Regions from separate parts of the Homo sapiens genome. Here regions 1, 2 and 3 are each linked to region 4. The links are contacts of gene promoters, found by promoter capture Hi-C in blood cells and fetal thymus (Javierre and others, 2016). All regions are on one chromosome and are shown on one strand. Each heading gives the region's core, a stretch centred on a gene start or on the middle of the fragment in contact. The rest is flanking DNA. Distances are from core to core; before and after follow the strand shown.

Region 1 (4,007 bases), core at 128-2,627, 380 kb after region 4:
CTACCATATTCTACTGGTCCCAGCAAGGCACAAGGCCATGCCAGATTCTGTACGGAGAACAGACCCTGCATCTTGCTGGGAGGAAAGCAGGAATCACAGCTATGCTTTGTCACCTTTCCTAGCGCTCTTAATGAAGAACCTTAAACAAATTGGAAGTGGTCATCCCAGTCCTTTGGTAAGACAAACACGTAGGGAGCCATGGTACCTGGATGCTTACTTAGCAGCTACCTTGAGGGAAAGTGGTATTTATTCTGTATCTTGTCCTCATACATCGTGTATCGCTGCATGTCTACTTACTAAAGAGGGCAAAGAAAGTTCCCAGATTATAGAAGGGTTTTGCTACAGTTTGAATGTTTGTTCCCTCCAAAACTCATGCTGAAACTTAACTGCCATTGTAATGGTATTGACAGGTCAGATCTTTGAAGATGATTAGGCCATGAGGGCTCTGCTCTTGTGGGTGGGATTAATGCAAGTTCAGCCCCTTTCGCCTCTTTGCTCTTCTGTCTTGTGCCAAGTGAGGATGCAGCATTCAAGGCGCCATCTTGGAATCCGAATCCCCAAGCCTGTTGGGGCCTTGGTTTTGGGCTTCCAGCGTCCAGAACTGGAGCTCATTCATTTCTACTCATTATGGATCACCCAGCCCGTGGCATTCTGTCACAGCAGCACAAATGGAGCGACTGGTTTGTGCAATGTTTCCAAGGACTTTGGAAAGTAACCTCCAGATGGAAGGTCATTTGTTGCAGGAAACTGCATCTGTAAAAAGTCTGTTATAGGAAAATTCATTTCTTCTCTTCTCATCGTAAGCCATGCTTGTGCTGGTGCTGGCGATGTGGGGAGTCCCTTGACCGAAGTGACTTGGGTCTAATGGATGCACAATTCTTAGGGCAGGTGTTCCCTGTACACACCAGAGCCACGGCAGACACAGACGAGCTTCCGGTGGCCTTCCTGGAGGAGCTGGGTCTTCCCTCACATTCCCCAAGCCTGCAACACTTGGGGGGTTCTGGATTTCTGCAGAGAGCTTTAGTGTGACCCCCACCCACACCCTTAAGTCATGCCCTGCCCCTGCGTGATCATTAAAGTGGAAGGCCCCCTCCCTCCTGGAGCCCCCTTGCTGTGGGCATGGTCCTCACCAGCCCCTGAGTGCCTGTGCTCTGGGCACCCGGGGTCCCCTCCTTCCTCAGAAGCTCACGATTCGGTGTGACTTTGTTGATCATTTTCTGGTAATGCTCAACATATTTGAGCATATTTCCAGAAACAAATTTTCCTGCTCACTTTGCAGCTCTCTCTAACTGGTTCCTGCCCCACCCTCTCGTTGGGGTCACCAAGAACCTCGGCACCACACGCCCAACGCACACTCCTTGTCCTCTCCTTACGGACATTGTGGCCACTCTCAGGGCTGCCTACCTGTCTTTATCTTGCAAACCCCCTTCTCTTCTGGCCCTGATCCGTCACCCCACGGGCTCCGAATTTTCTTCCTTCTTCCTGTCCTCCTGGGCTGCTCCTCCCCAGAAGCACAGTATGGAGGGCGGTTAGGAGCACCCCAGGGGCCAGGTCCTAGCTGCCTGCACTCCGTATGCCCTTGGCAGCCCCGTGTCTCATGGGGATGGTGGCTGCTCTGCAGATTCCATGATTATGCACATCAAACCCATCAAATGGGGCCCACCCACTAGCTGTTCAGTAAACGGCAGCTAATACTGCCATCCTCACCTCCAGATGTCTGCTGGCCTGGGATGGGGGCTGGGGCACGAGGAAAGGGCAGGGAGCCGCAGTGCCTTGCAGGACACTCACGCCAGGGAGGTCCTGTCTGCTCCAGGATGCCTCGTGGCCCCACTTCCTGCCTCTGTCGGGAGCCTTGACTTTCAACCTCTCATTTGCACTGACCCTAAACCCCCCTTTTTCAAACTGAGCTCCTCTCACCTCAGGGCTCACCTGTCTGGCTGCCTAATGACATGAGGCTTGATGGGCTCAAAGGACTGTGTGTAAAGCACTCAGTAGGTGACATTATTCTAAGGGTTTGCTGTGCATGTTTACTGAATCCACACAGCAGCCTTTGGGGTGGAGACGCAGCCTCGTCTCAGGCACTCAGGGATCCGAGGGTGGCAGAGTGCTGGCAGTAGGCTGGGCTGTGGCCCTGGGTGCTCCTCCAGAAGGAAGAGGCAGTGAAGGGACCGGGCAGGAGCAGTGTCTCAAACTGGGGGCGTCTAAACCTCTGACACCCCTTTTCCCATCCGCGCTTCCCTCCACAGTTCAGTTGCTCATCATGAACTCAGAAAACGTTCCTGACCCTCCTTCTCTGTGCCTGTCTCTCCACCATTAAATCTACCCACAATCTCGTCACTTCTAACTCTCAGACATGTGGTTTCTCTGCAACCCTTTCTCCCTGATCTGAATTCCATCAACTCTCTCCTGAACCATTGTCCCAGCCTCCCAGTCTCTCAGCTGCCCAGCATCCAAGCCTCCCAGTCTCTCAGCCTCCCAGCCTCCCAGCCTCTCAGCCTCTTAGCCCCTCAGCTCCCCAGCCTCCAAGCCTCTGAGCCCCTCAGCTCCCCAGCCCCCCAGCCTCCCAGCCTCTCAGCCTCTTAGCCCCTCAGCTCCCCAGTACCCCCAGCCTCCCAGCCTCTCAGCCCCTCAGCTCCCCAGCCCCCCAGCCTCCCAGCCTCCCAGCCTCTCAGCCCCTCAGCTCCCCGGCCCCCCAGCCTCCCAGCCTCCTAGCCTCTCAGCCCCTCAGCTCCCCAGCCCCCCAGCCTCCCAGCCTCTCAGCCTCTTAGCCCCTTAGCTCCCCAGCCCCCCAGCCTCCCAGCCTCCCAGCCTCTCAGCCCCTCAGCTCCCCAGCCTCCTAGCCTCCCAGCCTCTCAGCCTCTCATCCCCTCAGCTCCCCAGCCCCCCAGCCTCCCAGCCTCTCAGCCTCTTAGCCCCTTAGCTCCCCAGCCTCTCAGCCTCCAAACCTCCCAACCTCTCAGCCTCTTAGCCCCTCAGCTCCCCAGCCTCCCAGCCTCCCAGCCCCTCAGCTCCCCAGCCCCCCAGCCTCCCAGCCTCTCAGCCTCTTAGCCCCTCAGCTCCCCAGCCACCCAGCCTCCCAGGCTCCCAGCCTCCCAGCCTCTCAGCCCCTCAGCTCCCCAGCCCCCCAGCGTCCCAGCCTCTCAGCCTCTCAGCCCCTCAGCCCCCCAGCCTCCCAGCCTCCCAGCCTCTCAGCCTCCAAGCCTCCCAGCCCCCCAGCCTCCCAGCCTCTCAGCCTTCAAGCCTCCCAGCCCACCAGCCTCCCAGCCTCTCAGCCTCCAAGCCTCCCAGCCTCTCAGCCTCCAAGCCTCCCAGCCCCCCAGCCTCCCAGCCTCTCAGCCTCCAAGCCTCGCAGCCCCCCAGCCTCCCAGCCTCTCAGCCTCCAAGCCTGCCAGCCTCCCAGCCTCTCAGCCTCCAAGCCTCCCAGCCTCCCAGCCTCTCAGCCTCCAAGCCTCCCAGCCCCCTAGCCTCCCAGCCTCCCAGCCTCTCAGCCTCCAAGCCTCCCAGCCCCCTAGCCTCCCAGACTTCCAGCCTCTCAGCCTCCCGGCCTCCCGGCCTCCCAGCCTCCCAGCCTCCTAGCCTCCCGGCCCCCCAGCCTCCCAGCCTCCCAGCAGGTCTTGTCCTTACTCTGGTTCCTCTGGCACATTTTGCACATGGCAGCCAGAGGAAAGTTTAAAAATGCAGATCAGGCGCCGGGCGCGGTGGTTCACTCCTGTAATCCCAGCACTTTGGGAGGCTGAGGCAGGTGGATCACTTGAGGTTAGGAATTTGAGACCAGCCTGGCCAACATGATGAAACTCCATCTCTACTAAAAATACAAAAATTAGCCAGGCATGATGGTGGGTGCCTGTAATCCCAGTTACTCGGGAGGCTGAAGCAAGAGAATCTCTTGAACCCAGTGGGTGGAGGTTGCGGTGAGCCGAGATCGCCCCATTGCACTCCAGCCTGGGCAACAAGAATGAAACTCCATCTCAAAAAAAAAAATGCAGCTCAGAGTACCTCACTCCACA
Region 2 (3,748 bases), core at 613-3,112, 420 kb after region 4:
CAGCCCCTGAGCTCTGCCACCCTGCCCGGGCTTCTGCCCTTGGGTCCTGGCCTCTCAGGGTCTCCTCAGCTCTGCAAGGAGGGGCTGGGAGCAGGTCCCAGGCTAGCAGTGGGCTGGAGGCCTCCTGTGTGGTCTCTACCTGTCCATGCCGAGGGGTCACCTCTGGGTGAGGTCGCACCCACCCCCCTCACGGGGCTGCTTTGCCAGAAGGTCTGTTCCCCTCATGGCCTCTGCTACTCTTTACACTTAGTTCTTCCCAGGAAGGGCCCGGTGGCTGCAGATAATGTTTCCCATCTGTGGAGCCTTCAAGGGCTGGGCCCATGAGGATTCTGCTCCCAGCTTGCTCTTCCTCTCCAGCCTGCACCCACCAGGCCCCAGAATCCTGAGGATGGAGCTGCTCCTGTCCCCTGAGGTGGTCTAAACCTCTGGGGAGGCACTGGAGGGGCCTCAGGAGCAGCCACTCTTCCGTGTTCTCCCTGGACCTAGAACCCGAGGGGCTGGGAAGAGTGGAATGCATGAGTGTGGCCTTTGAGGTCTTCCTGAGGCCGTGGGGCCTGCCTCGCAGGAAGCATCAGCTTCAGGAAGGCTCTGCACTCAGGGCTGGGCGTGGCCACCCACAGGCACGTAGGGAGCACCTGCTGTGTACCCAGTGCTGCACTGGACTCTGAGACCCAGGGGTGGGTGCCTGAGTACCACCACGTGAGAGCTGCCAGTCTTGTTTCCTTTCTGAGGGGAAACTGAGGAACTCCCGCTTGCCCTCCCCCCCGCCTCATCCTCTGTGTCCCATGTAAAAGGCAGGCATCTGGCTGGACTCCCTCTGGGACACCCACTTTCACCAACTGGCATGGCTGCCTGGCCAGTGCTGGAGAGGGTCCAGCTGGGTCTGGGCTGAGCAGCAGTGAGTGTGGCGATTGATTAGTGATGTCTGCCACATGCAGAGGGATGGGAGGGTGGATGCGAGAGGCAGGAATTCCCCATCTGCCGACTGAGTCCTTTCTTAGCCAGCCCAGCTCTCGCCATCTGCTGTGGTTTGATTGTGTCCCCTCTAACATCAGGTGTTGAAACTCAATGGCCAATGTGGTGGCATTAAGAGGGGCCTTTAAGAGGTGATTGGGCCATTAGGGCTCCTCCTCTCACGACTGGGAGTCCACAGCATTTGGTGAGCTCGCCCACCCTGGCATGAGCATGTCCCCCTCTGAAGGATGCAGCCCTCACCAGACACCAAACCTCGGTCTTGGACTTCCCAGCCTCCAGAATGGTTAGAAAGACATTTCGGTTCTTTGTAAATTACGCAGCCTGTGGTATTCTGTTACAGCCACACTGAAGGACTAGGGCTCCATCATGAGCTGATGGGTGTGGGTGCAGTCCCCCCAGGGCCTGACGGCCTGATCACCAGTTCTTTTTGTTACCAACGGCACCTTCCCAAATGTGTTCATTGATTTCATCGCCCCCATAAACATGCATGGATCAGCACGGGGTGCAGAAGAAAGGTGTATGGGGGGAGGCCCAAAGTTCAGGAGAAGCCAGGCCCAGTGCAGCCAGTGGGAGGAGTGAGAGCAGCCAGCGGAGGCGGACGTGGCCTGTGCATTTGCATGTGGGGCGGCTGGAGGTATCTATGGTGTGAATGGGGGAGGAGCCTAAGGGCTGGGTCTGAGCCGCTGCTGGGCCTCCAGCCTGGGTCTGGGGCTCCCACCCCAACTGCCAGGCTCAGGAGTTCTAAGGAGTGCAAGGCAGGAACCTGCAGTGAGCCCCGCCCCCTTTCTGGAGGCTCCACCATGGCTCCTCACCCGCCCCACCCTGCTGGTCCCGGGCTTCTGAGCGGAGAGGGTGGCCCTTGTCCATTGCAGGCATGCAGGGGTGAGAACGGTCCGAGGGGCTCACAAGGGTGAACTGGGGGCCACGGATGTACGCTCCAGGCTGGGGGCTCAGGCAAGGCCCCAGGGGGCCCCACAGAGCTCCCTGCATAAAATCAGGGGCCAGTGAAGGGGGTCGGCCTCTGTCCCAGCCATATACCCAGAGGTGCAGGATGCAGAGTCTGTAGCCCCCTCTCTGGGGTCTTGGTGCCCCTGCCTCACCTACACTTCCTCTCCTGGTGGCCCCAGACCCCTGGGGTGGGAGCTGACCCGGTGGGAGCACCAGACGGGGTCGCGACACTCACCCCGTGGCCACCGCCAGCAGCGTGGAGAGCTCACCAAGGGTGTGATGGATGGGGGCGCCCATCCTGCAAAGCTGTGACAAATGTGCCTCCCGCTCACAGACTCTCTTTGGAATCCGCTAATACTCCTTGAAGGTGAAGTCCCATTTTTCCCCTGCAATCACAGTATTAAACTTTAATATCTGATATTAATAAAACATACTCTCTCTAATAGAGTCACTCGAGGCCGGGAGGGAGCGCGTGCAGAGGATGGTCCCTGGTGACTGTCTGCAATGTTTTCCCATCCTGGCCAGGTGCTGGGAGTGCTGCGATGCAGAGGGTGGGGGCAGAGTCGAAGGCGGGAAGCTGCCCCACTGGGGCTTCCTGTGCCATCCTCCCCAGGCAGCACCGAGGCTCCCCTGACTCTTCACAGCGGATGTCAGACAAGCAACACAGGTGTCTCTCAGATGGCAGGCAGGGTGCTGCTGCCTCCGGGGGACCAGGTATGGCCCCTCTGCCTCCAGTGGGGAAGGAAACAGGGTCCATGTTTTGGCTGAAGCCCCTTCAGCTAAAGACCCCCCCGGAAAGAGGGAGAGCCCTATTCCCCTCCACCGTGCACCCCGGCACTGTGCTGTAGCCATGCATGCTGCCCTTTTGCAGGATTGCCAGAGAATCGTTTGCCGAGACTGGGGTGCTTTTGAGAGTGGGGGAAGCTGTTCGTTGGCTGGGACAGTGAGTGCAAACTAGGGCCATCCCGGGCATCGGGGCTTCTCCTCATCCCATGCAACTCCACCCCATGTCTCCCTCTGACTGTGCTCAGGGGGCTCCCTCTGCCAGGTCTTCCTGCCTCCCAGCCCCTCACCGCCTCCCCTAGCCCCGTGTCCATGCTACCTATTCCCTGGAACCAGCCTCGGGCTCTGCCTCGGTGTGCCTGTCCTGCTCTTCCTGCCCTCCCTGTGTGTGCCGCCCGAAGGGGACTGTGCTGTGGAGTGGTCAGAGGGCGGGTTTGATGGAGAAGCAGTGGCTCCTGCCCCAGGATCTGGGAGGTGCTGGGGTGAGCAGCGGTGCCGTGGGGCCCCCAGGAGTCTCCGTTCCCACTGCAGGTGTGTTGGGTTGTTTCCCGGCTCTCGGGGCAGGGCTGCGTCGTGTCGTATGTCGCATTCCAGGTGTAAGTCACCAATCACCCTTTCAAAGCGTACAATTCAGTGATTTGTTTTTAGTACAGTTGATCCTCATTCACGGATTCCACATTTACCAATTTGTCTATGTGATGAAAGCTATGGGTGGTCTCCAAATACATACTCCCAGTGCCCTGAGGTCACCCGGACGTGTACCCAGTGCCAAGCAAGCCTCTTTCTCGAGGTCGATTTAGTACGTGTTTCTTGCTTTGTGCGTTTCTTGTTGCTGATTTCGCTGTTGAAGTGGCCTGAGCGCTGTCCTGTGTGGCCCAGGGCTCTGGGGGGCTGACCGCACTGCTCTGGGCTGCCCCTGAGAATGCCTCCCCGGCCCCAGGGAAAATATCAGGAAAAATGCCTCACCCCAGTGGCATCTCCGCTGCTCCACCAAACAGCCTCTGAGGGGGACACCTTTCCTCCCCGCTTAGAGATAAGGACA
Region 3 (3,978 bases), core at 912-3,411, 300 kb before region 4:
AACATGAAATCTGAAGCGTTCAACTCCACGAGTTTTTACAAAGCAAACTGCACCGCGTCACATAGCTGATCCGTGTGTAGCTTGTCCTCTGGACGCGGGGCCACCCCCACACCCCGAGGTGACCCCAGGCGTAACCTACCCGTCCCCGGCCTTGGTGCCTGCAGATAGTTTTGCTTGTTTCGAGCTTTTGTCTTGGGATCCGGGGCCATCCACCCTGGGTGTGGCCGCTCAGTCGGGCCCCTGTGTGGGGCTTTCCCGTGGTGTGGGGTGCGGTTCTGCCGTGTCCGTCCCCACTGCGGGGCTGCTCTGCTGGCTGAATTCTCCACGTCTTATGTATCCACCCTCATCTTGCGAGGCACCGGGGTCCCGGCTTTTGGCCACAGACATCCGAGCGCCTTCTGTTGCCCGTGGCGCATCTTTCATGTGGGCACACCCAGGAGTGGAGTTTCCGGGAAACAGACGTTTCCCTCGCGTGGCCGCACCAGGTCGCACTCTGCACTGTGTTTCTGCCTCCAGTTATGTGGGGTTTTCTGCACCCACAGCCACTCTGGCGCCAGCTGGGTGTCCTGTGTTTCCATTCAGCTCTGACATCAATTACCTGACGTTAGCGCAGACCCTGCAGATGAAGGGCTCATTCCCACAAGCCTGCCCCTACTTGAGAGCCAGCTGCAAGTGCCAGGTGACAACCTGGATTCTGACCAACTGGCTGTGAATCGGGGGTGTCCGTGACCCCTTCCTGAGGCTCGGGTGGGCTAGAATAGCTCCCGGAACTCAGGAAAACACTTTGCTTAGTGTACCCGTTTATTAGAAAGGACAGCCACACGGAGGAGCTGCACGGGAGGCTGAGGTATGGGGGGTGCAGAGCTTCCGTGCCCTCTCCAGGCACGCCACCCTCCAGCACCTTGGTATATTCACCAACTCGGACACTCTCCAGACCATGTCATTGAGGGCTTTTTGTGGAGGCTTCGTGACAGGCACGGTTGATTCAACAGCCAGCCACTGCTGATTACCTCAGTCTCTCCTGTCTCCTCTCTGGACCGTGGGCTGTGGGACGGAAAGTTCCAACCCGCTAGGCATTCCTTGGTCCTGCTGAAGACCAGCCGCATCCTGGAGCTGTCCCGGCTCCCGGCTCCCCGTCATCTCATTAGCATGCAAAAAGACACTCTTACCGCACTCCAGGATTCCTAGGGTCAGAGGGGCTGCGCGCTGGGAAACTGAGACAAAGGCTGAATCTGTGTTGATGGCACAGTCACTCTGGGTCGTGTGGGAATTCCCGATGCACCTCCTTCCAGCACATGGACTGTCAGAGCCCTGCGTTGTCGCCAGCACAGCAGATCTGAAAGGCACTAGGCTGTGGCCTCGCGACGGCTGAGGTGAGCTGCTTCTCCGAGGCTCCCGGGTTATTGGGGACCCTCCTTTTAAAGGTGCCTGTTCCAGTCTTTTGCCCCATTTCAAAATTGGGCTGTCAAAGAACAATGTCATTGGGGGGTCCGTCTTTTTTGTTGGTTCCTGGGGGCTGTGTGTGTTTTAGAGACAAGTGCTTTGATTTTTTGTGTTGCAAACAGCTTCTGTCACTCCGCGGCTCGCCTTCCACTCCATGGATGGTGTCTTCTGATGAACAGAAAGTAAAAGCTTACTTTATAATTAGGGCTTTTGCGTCCTGGCTGTGTGTGGGGCCTCTTTCTGGACTGATCTGTCCCCTTTGTTTTTTGCCCCCATGTCGTACTGTTCTGATTTCTTCTGCTTTATAATCACCATTGGTAACTTGTGTTATGAGTCTCCAATTTGGGGTTTTTAGTTTTCAAGGTTATCTTGGTTATTGGCTTTTTACATTTCCATACACATGGGCTTGTTAATAAGCCATTTACAGTTGGCTTATTTGCTTTCAAAATCTCCATAAGACATTTGGATTGCATTTGGATTTCTTGATCAGTATGGGAGATTAGCATCTTTACAATACTGAGGTTTCCAATCCGTGAACATATCTTTAGGCCTTTGATTGGGGTTTTTTTGGCAGGGGAGTTGCGGGGGGCAGACAGGACCTCACTCTTGCCCAGGCTGGAGTGCAGTGGCATGATCATGGCTCACTGCAGCCTTGACCTCCTGGGCTCAAGCAATCCTCCCACCTCAGCCTCCCAAGTAGCTGGGACTACAGGTGTGCACCACCATGCCCAGCTATTTTGGCATTTTTTTGTAGAGACAGGGTCTCCCTATGTTGCCCAGGCTGGTCTTGAACTCCTGGGCTCAAGTGGTCCTTCTGCCTCAGCCTCCTAAGGTGCTGGGATTACAGATGCAAGCCACTGCACCCGGCCTTAAATTCTTTCAATAATATTTTGTAGTCTTGTGTGTAGCGGTCATCCACATTTTTTGTTCAAATGATTCCCTGGTATTTCAGTGCTTATGCTGTTTTAAGCCGTATTACTTTTACAGTTTTTTTTTTTTTATCTTTTTGTTTATAGCAATGTGTAAAGAAGTGTGATTAACTCATTTGTCTTGGCCTCTCCTGGTCCCCGTAGTTTGTCTGTGGTTGCTCCGGAACCTCTCTGTGCGCTGCCATTTTGTCAGTGACCGGCTGTTTGTTTCTGCCTTTCCTTCAGATGTTGCCTTGTTACCCTGGCACTGTTGATCCTTCCAAAACAGTATGGGACAGAAGTGGTGACAGCCACATCCTCTCGTGCCTGATTTCAGGGAAAAGCTTTAAGAATTCCACCATTAAGGGTGCTGTTTGCGGAAATACTGTTTTTCCTTCGTAAATCCCCACCAACAAATTAAAGAGGTTCTATTTTATTCCTAGTTGAAAGTTGTTAATATGAATGGTGCTGAATTTTTTCAGATGCTTTTTTTCCTTCATCTATTGATGTGACAGAACTTTTCTCCTTTATTCTGTTCATACGATGAATTCTATGGATTGGCTCTTAATGGTAGACCGATGGCATTCCTGTAGTGTGCCTCGTTTGGTTGTGATGAGTTCGCCTTTTTATATTTTGCTTGATTCAGTTTGCTATTATTTTGTTTGTTGTTTTTGCAACTGTATTTATGAGAGAGATTAGCCTATTATTTCTTTTTTTTTTTTTTTTGGAGTCTCACTCTGTCACCCAGGCTGGAGTGGAGTTCAGTGGCCCGATCTGGGCGCACTGCAACCTCCGCCTCCCTGGTTCAAGCGATTCTCCTGCCTGAGCCTCCTGAGTAGTTGGGATTACAGGTGTGTGCCACCACGCCTGGTTAATTTTTGTATTTTTAGTAGAGACAGGGTTTCACCATGTTGGCCAAGCTGGTCTTGAACCCCTGACCTTAGGTGATCCGCCCGCCTTGGCCTCCCAAAGTGCTGGGATTACAGGTGTGAGCCACCATGCCTGGCCATATCTTCCTTTTGATTGATGCTTTTATCATCATGAAATGTTTTTGTTTTTTTTTTTTTGAGACAGAGTGTCGCTCTGTCCCCCAGGCTGGAGTGCAGTGGCACCATCTCCACTCACTGCAAGCTCTGCCTCCTGGGTTCACGCCATTCTCCTGCCTCAGCCTCCTGAGTAGCTGGGACTACAGGTGCCTGCCACCGCGCCTAGCTAATTTTTTATATTTTTAGTAGAGACGAGGTTTCACCGTGTTAGCCAGGATGGTCTCGATCTCCTGACCTCCTGATCCGCCTGCTTCGGCCTCCCAAAGTGCTGGGATTACAGGCGTGAGCCACTGTGCCCGGCCAAATGTTGCTCTTTAGATGAAAATATTATTGTCATTAACATCTGATCTGTATGATGTTAGTGTGACCACACCAGCTCTGTGTGTGTGTGTGTGTGTGTGTGTGTGTGTGTGTGTGTGTGAGATGAGGGGAGGGAGGGAAGGGGACTTAGTGTTTATATGCTCTATTTTTTCATCCTTTCACTTTCTTTTCTGTATATTTTGGAAATGACTCTTAAAAGCAGAAGTTAGTTATTTTTAATCCAGTCTGAAAATGGCTGTGTTTTAAATGAAAGATTTAGT
Region 4 (4,271 bases), core at 1,204-3,703:
GAGAAATGGGTCTCAGTGGCACCCGGGGTAAAGTCTTAAACAAAGAACCCCAGGGACACACAAAGGCTGGAAAAGTCGGCTCCCTGCTGGGAGCAGATGCCTCGCCTCCCTCGGAGCAGTACCTCCTGCACTTCCCTGAAGCAACCTCACCCGGGCCAGCTCCAGGAGCTTCTCACACTGCCTGGCAGCCCCCTGGCCACCGTCCCCAGACTTGGTGTGTGTGGCTGCCCTCAGTCCTGAGGTCCCGTGGGAGCTTCTACCTGCAAGTGTGGTGAGGCCAAAGTAGGCCACATCTGAGAGCAGCTCAACCTCCTTCCTCCACTCCAGCCACTTCCTCGCACCTGAGAGGAGAAACAGTATTAGTCCGGGGGAGCTGGTGGGCATCCTCTGAGGATGAGGGACCACAGTCCTCCCCCAGTTGTCTAGGCCCAGATCCAGTCCCACCCCTTCCATGAAGCCAACACTCACTCCCTGGCCTCCCTCTCTGCTTCTGTCTCCGGAGGCACCACCTTGACTTGCCTTAGCGTGAGCTGCAGACAGTCTGCGAAGAATCTCCCACCTGTGCTCATCTCTTGCTCCGGGATTCCCCTGAGCAACTGTTCTAGGGCCTATGAGGGCCACATGGAAAGATGGTCTGGGGTATTAAGATTACAGGCCAGAGGCCAACTGTCTAGCATCAAAAAGCAGCTCTCCAACTTGCTGGCTGTGAGGTCTTTCTGGAATCTCAATTTGCTCATCTATCAGAAGAGTAATAAGTCCTACTTGGAGGGATGTTTGAAGATTCAATATTTGTAAAACACTGGGAACAGTGTCTGGCACAGGGGTAAGTGCCAAGTGTACTGTAAAACAAGTAAGTACACACACAAAAAATTCTCATCATGTCACTCTCCTGTTCAGAATCCACCAATGGCTGCCCACCTGACACCCATGGGCCTCCCGGCACGGAGCCTGGCTGTCCTCTGATATTTACCCATGCTCTTCCTGTCCCATGGCACTGTTCCTTTGGCCACGACACCCCCACCACTGGGCTCTAGTGCCACTGCTCCCTGAAACGTTCTGCTGGGAGTTCATGCCTTTAACGACTGCCTGCCCCACCCCCCAAAGACTTGATGGCTTTGCCTTTTTTTTTTTTTTTTTTTTTTTGAGATGGAGTCTCACTCTGTTGCCCAGACTGGAGTGCAGTGGCACGATCTTGGCTTACTGCAACCTCCGCCTCCCGGGTTCAAGTGATTCTGTCTCAGCCTCCCAAGTAGCTGGGATTACACGCACGCGCCACCACGCCCTGCTGATTTTTGTATTTTTAGTAGAGACGGGGTTTCACCATGTTGTGTAGACTGGTCTCGAACTCCTGACCTCAAGTGATCCACCCGCCTCGGCCTCCCAAAGTGCTGGGATTACAGGCGTGAGCCACCACACCCGGCATCTTTTTTTTTTCGTTTTTTAATCGGTGATGGGGTCTGGCCCCGTCGCCCAGGCTGGAGTGCAGCGGCACAATCATGGCTCACTGCAGCCTCATCCCTCGGGCTCAGGCGATTCTCTTGCCTCAGCCTCCTGAAGAGCTGGGATTACAGACGCCGCCACCACGTCCGGCTAATTTTCAGATTTTTTGTAGAGACGGGGTCTTGCCATGTTGCCCAGGCTGGTTTCAAACTCCTGGGCTCAAGCGATCCTCCCGCCTCTGCCTCCCAAACTGCTGGGATGACAGGTGCTGCTTCATTGAGTACACTGGCTTCTGTACTCAGCTCCCGGCCTGGTGAGGCAGGCAGGGCCTGGCTGAGCCTACACTGGGGTCAGCAGGGCGAGGGGCCTGGGCTGCTGCTCAGGCCTAGGAAAGGCCGGGGTCAGTGTGAACCGGACCGAGGTATGAGGCGTTCGCGCCGCGGGCGCTCTGACCCCTCTGCTCACAGGGGAGGATCGGAGGGAGGCTTGAAGCACTTGCCAAGGCCTCACACCTGGAGGGGACAGAGTCTTCCCCAGCCGCTGGCGTCAGCTGGACCTGCCCTGAGCTGGGGACGGGAAGGGCTTGGGCGGGAACTGGAGGCCCACGCAGGTCCCCCGCGGTGTCTGCGGCCTGTGCCTCTGGGGCCACCTGGCCAGGGAGGGCAGGAGGTGCCCCGCACATCCCTGAATGGCCGCAGGGCAGGCGAAGGAGACTGCCGGGTCCCAGGTTGTGGGACGGGCCCAGGCGACCGTGACCACACACGGCAGACACCCCGCCTCCATGAGGGGCAACACCCCCTGGGCCGCTCGCGAGGACGTCCGGCCGCGCCCGGCCCTCACCCGCCAGGCTGTGCAGGGCGCCGCCCGCCGCGCTCCGCAGCCCACCGCGGTAGTACTCGTCCTTCTGCGCCGCGCGGATCACCTCCGGGGGGCTGGCGGCGGCCGGGGCCATGGCCGCGGGTTCGGGTGGTCCCGAGCAGCCACGCCGGCCACGCCCACGCCCAGACGGGCGAGAACTGATGACGGCACGACGTGGCTCTGCGTGCGGCGCAGACCTCTGCGTCAAGGTGCTGGGGCGGGGCCGGACTGGGGCTGGAGGCGGGGCCAGGGCCCGGGCGGAAGCGGGGCTGGAGTCCGAACCAGCGCAGCGCGGGGCGGGGCAGCGGGAAGGTAGTCGGAGGCGCAGGGCGGAGCGGAGCGGGGCGGGGCCCGCGAGCCGAGGTGGGGGCGGGGCACGCGCGAGGGGCGCTGGCGAGGCAGCGGGATGGGCTCGCGGCCGCGTGGTTGCTGCGACCTCGGGGTCCTACGCTGCCAGGGGCCCCTGCTCTGCTCCCTGCACGTCCACGGGCCGCCCTCCCACTGGGGACAGCGCTGCGGAGTGGAGACGCTGCAGGCCCATTTACGGCTGGGGAGACGGAGGCTTTCGCTTGGGTCTTCGGGAAGCCGAGCTCCCAGCGCCGGCCGCGGCGGTCCCGCCCTCGCGCCCTTTGAGCTGCGCGGGCTCTCAGCGCGGGTTGGCCAGTTCCGGGGAGCCGGTCGGTTTGGGGGCCAGAGGGGCACGAGGCGAGACCCGGGACCTTCCAGGCCCCGAGCAGCCGCCTTCCCCAGTAATCCTGCGCGAAAAGCACACGGCCGGCTTGGTGTGGACGCCCCCCTGGTGCCCACGGGAGGCAGGGCCTGGCGGGTGGGGGGCAGCCGGGAAGCCGCCGCGTGGTTCCAGGACGGGCGGAAGGTGGCCTTCCACCCTCCACCCTCCACCCTGCCTGGCCTGAGCCCCGCAGGTGCTCTGGGGAACCACATCGCAGGCGCTCCGATCCCTCTGCTCCCAGGGGACGAGCGGAGGGAGGCCTGAAGCACTTGCCAAGGCCGCACACCTGGAGGGGACAGAACCTTCCCCAGCCGCTGGCCACAGCTGGACCTGCCCTGAGCTGGGGGTGGGAAGGGCTGGGGCGGGAACTGGAGGCCCACGCAGGTCGCCTGCGGTGTCTGCGGCCTGTGCCTCTGGGGCCGCCTGGCCAGGGAGGGCAGGAGATGCCTGGTACATACCTGAATGGCTGCAGGGCAGGTGAAGGAGAAGGCCCTGTTTTTTGGCCCCAAGGGCAGCACTTGGCCCTGGAGAGTCCTGCAGGATTGCAGGAGGAAGGCAGGGCACGACAAGGGGGCGTCTGCGCCCCGCTGACCTCAGTGGGGAGGGCCTCCAGTTCCTTGCCTCACCTCTGGTTCCATCTACAGGAGCTCAGCTGTGGGATCATCCCCAGACTGGCACAGCCCAGTCACAAAGCCAGAGCCCCACACTGCAGGAATGGCCCCTCTTACAGGGAAGGGGCATGGCCTGGGTGGCCCCGCCCCGCAGGCCCTCTGGCTACCAAACCTCCCAGCGCCCCCGCGCCCCTTTGGAGTTCTGACCCCGCGGGTGCACCCGTGTCTCCTGGACACAGAGGCTGCCCTCTGATTGGGTTGAGCACCTTGGGCTGAACCCCTCATCCGTGGACCAGGCAACCCGGCATCGCCCACGTGGAGCCGCTGAGGTGATCATGTGTTCTGGTCAATGCTTAGATAACAGTTTGAGATGCCGCTCTGGCCCCTGGGTTCATGGCTCCACGTCTGATTCTGAGGAGGAGGCTTCGGCTCCTTTGGATTCACACTGGGTTCTATGATGGGCCCCTGACGGGAGGGCCTGCTCTAGGAGGCATCCCCCACCGCTGTCCTGGCTCAGGACTGCTTTCCCCACTCTTCTCATCTGCACCCTGGGCGACAAATCCCAGCCTCACAGTGGGAGGGGCCTGGGCAGGACCTGAAACAAAGTGTCCCAGTGTCTGCTGTTCCTGGGC

The links. Contacts are between HindIII fragments. The CHiCAGO score rates a contact against its expected background, and 5 or more counts as called.
Region 1: a contact is called between a fragment that was not itself captured here and the fragment with the promoter of PEX10 in region 4, in 11 of 17 cell types (M0 macrophages, megakaryocytes, naive CD8 T cells and 8 more). The highest score is 7.8, in M0 macrophages.
Region 2: a contact is called between a fragment that was not itself captured here and the fragment with the promoter of PEX10 in region 4, in 2 of 17 cell types (naive CD4 T cells and naive CD8 T cells). The highest score is 5.3, in naive CD4 T cells.
Region 3: a fragment that was not itself captured here is called in contact with the fragment with the promoter of PEX10 in region 4 in 1 of 17 cell types (neutrophils); the score reaches 5.0 in neutrophils.

The regions. Positions count from the first base shown.
Region 1 is chr1:2,795,574-2,799,580 of GRCh38, forward strand. The region is part of intron 2 of TTC34 (tetratricopeptide repeat domain 34); the gene reads right to left. Among named protein-coding and RNA genes, the nearest start is that of TTC34, 4.1 kb to the right of the region's middle. The HindIII fragment of the contact is 5,722 bases long and covers 1-4,007 here.
Region 2 is chr1:2,831,126-2,834,873 of GRCh38, forward strand. No RefSeq gene overlaps it. Among named protein-coding and RNA genes, the nearest start is that of TTC34, 31 kb to the left of the region's middle. The HindIII fragment of the contact is 6,524 bases long and covers 1-3,748 here.
Region 3 is chr1:2,114,938-2,118,915 of GRCh38, forward strand. All of the region lies in intron 4 of PRKCZ (protein kinase C zeta), which reads left to right. Among named protein-coding and RNA genes, the nearest start is that of PRKCZ, 67 kb to the left of the region's middle. The HindIII fragment of the contact is 1,063 bases long and covers 1,631-2,693 here.
Region 4 is chr1:2,410,111-2,414,381 of GRCh38, forward strand. It overlaps PEX10 (peroxisomal biogenesis factor 10), which reads right to left and starts at 2,454. Exons shown (of 6, transcript NM_002617.4): 1 at 2,281-2,454; 2 at 261-341. The coding sequence starts at 2,392. RefSeq lists enhancers at 1,101-1,681, 1,682-2,262, 2,263-2,843, 2,844-3,423 and silencers at 2,040-2,419, 2,580-3,179. The HindIII fragment of the contact is 16,041 bases long and covers 1-4,271 here.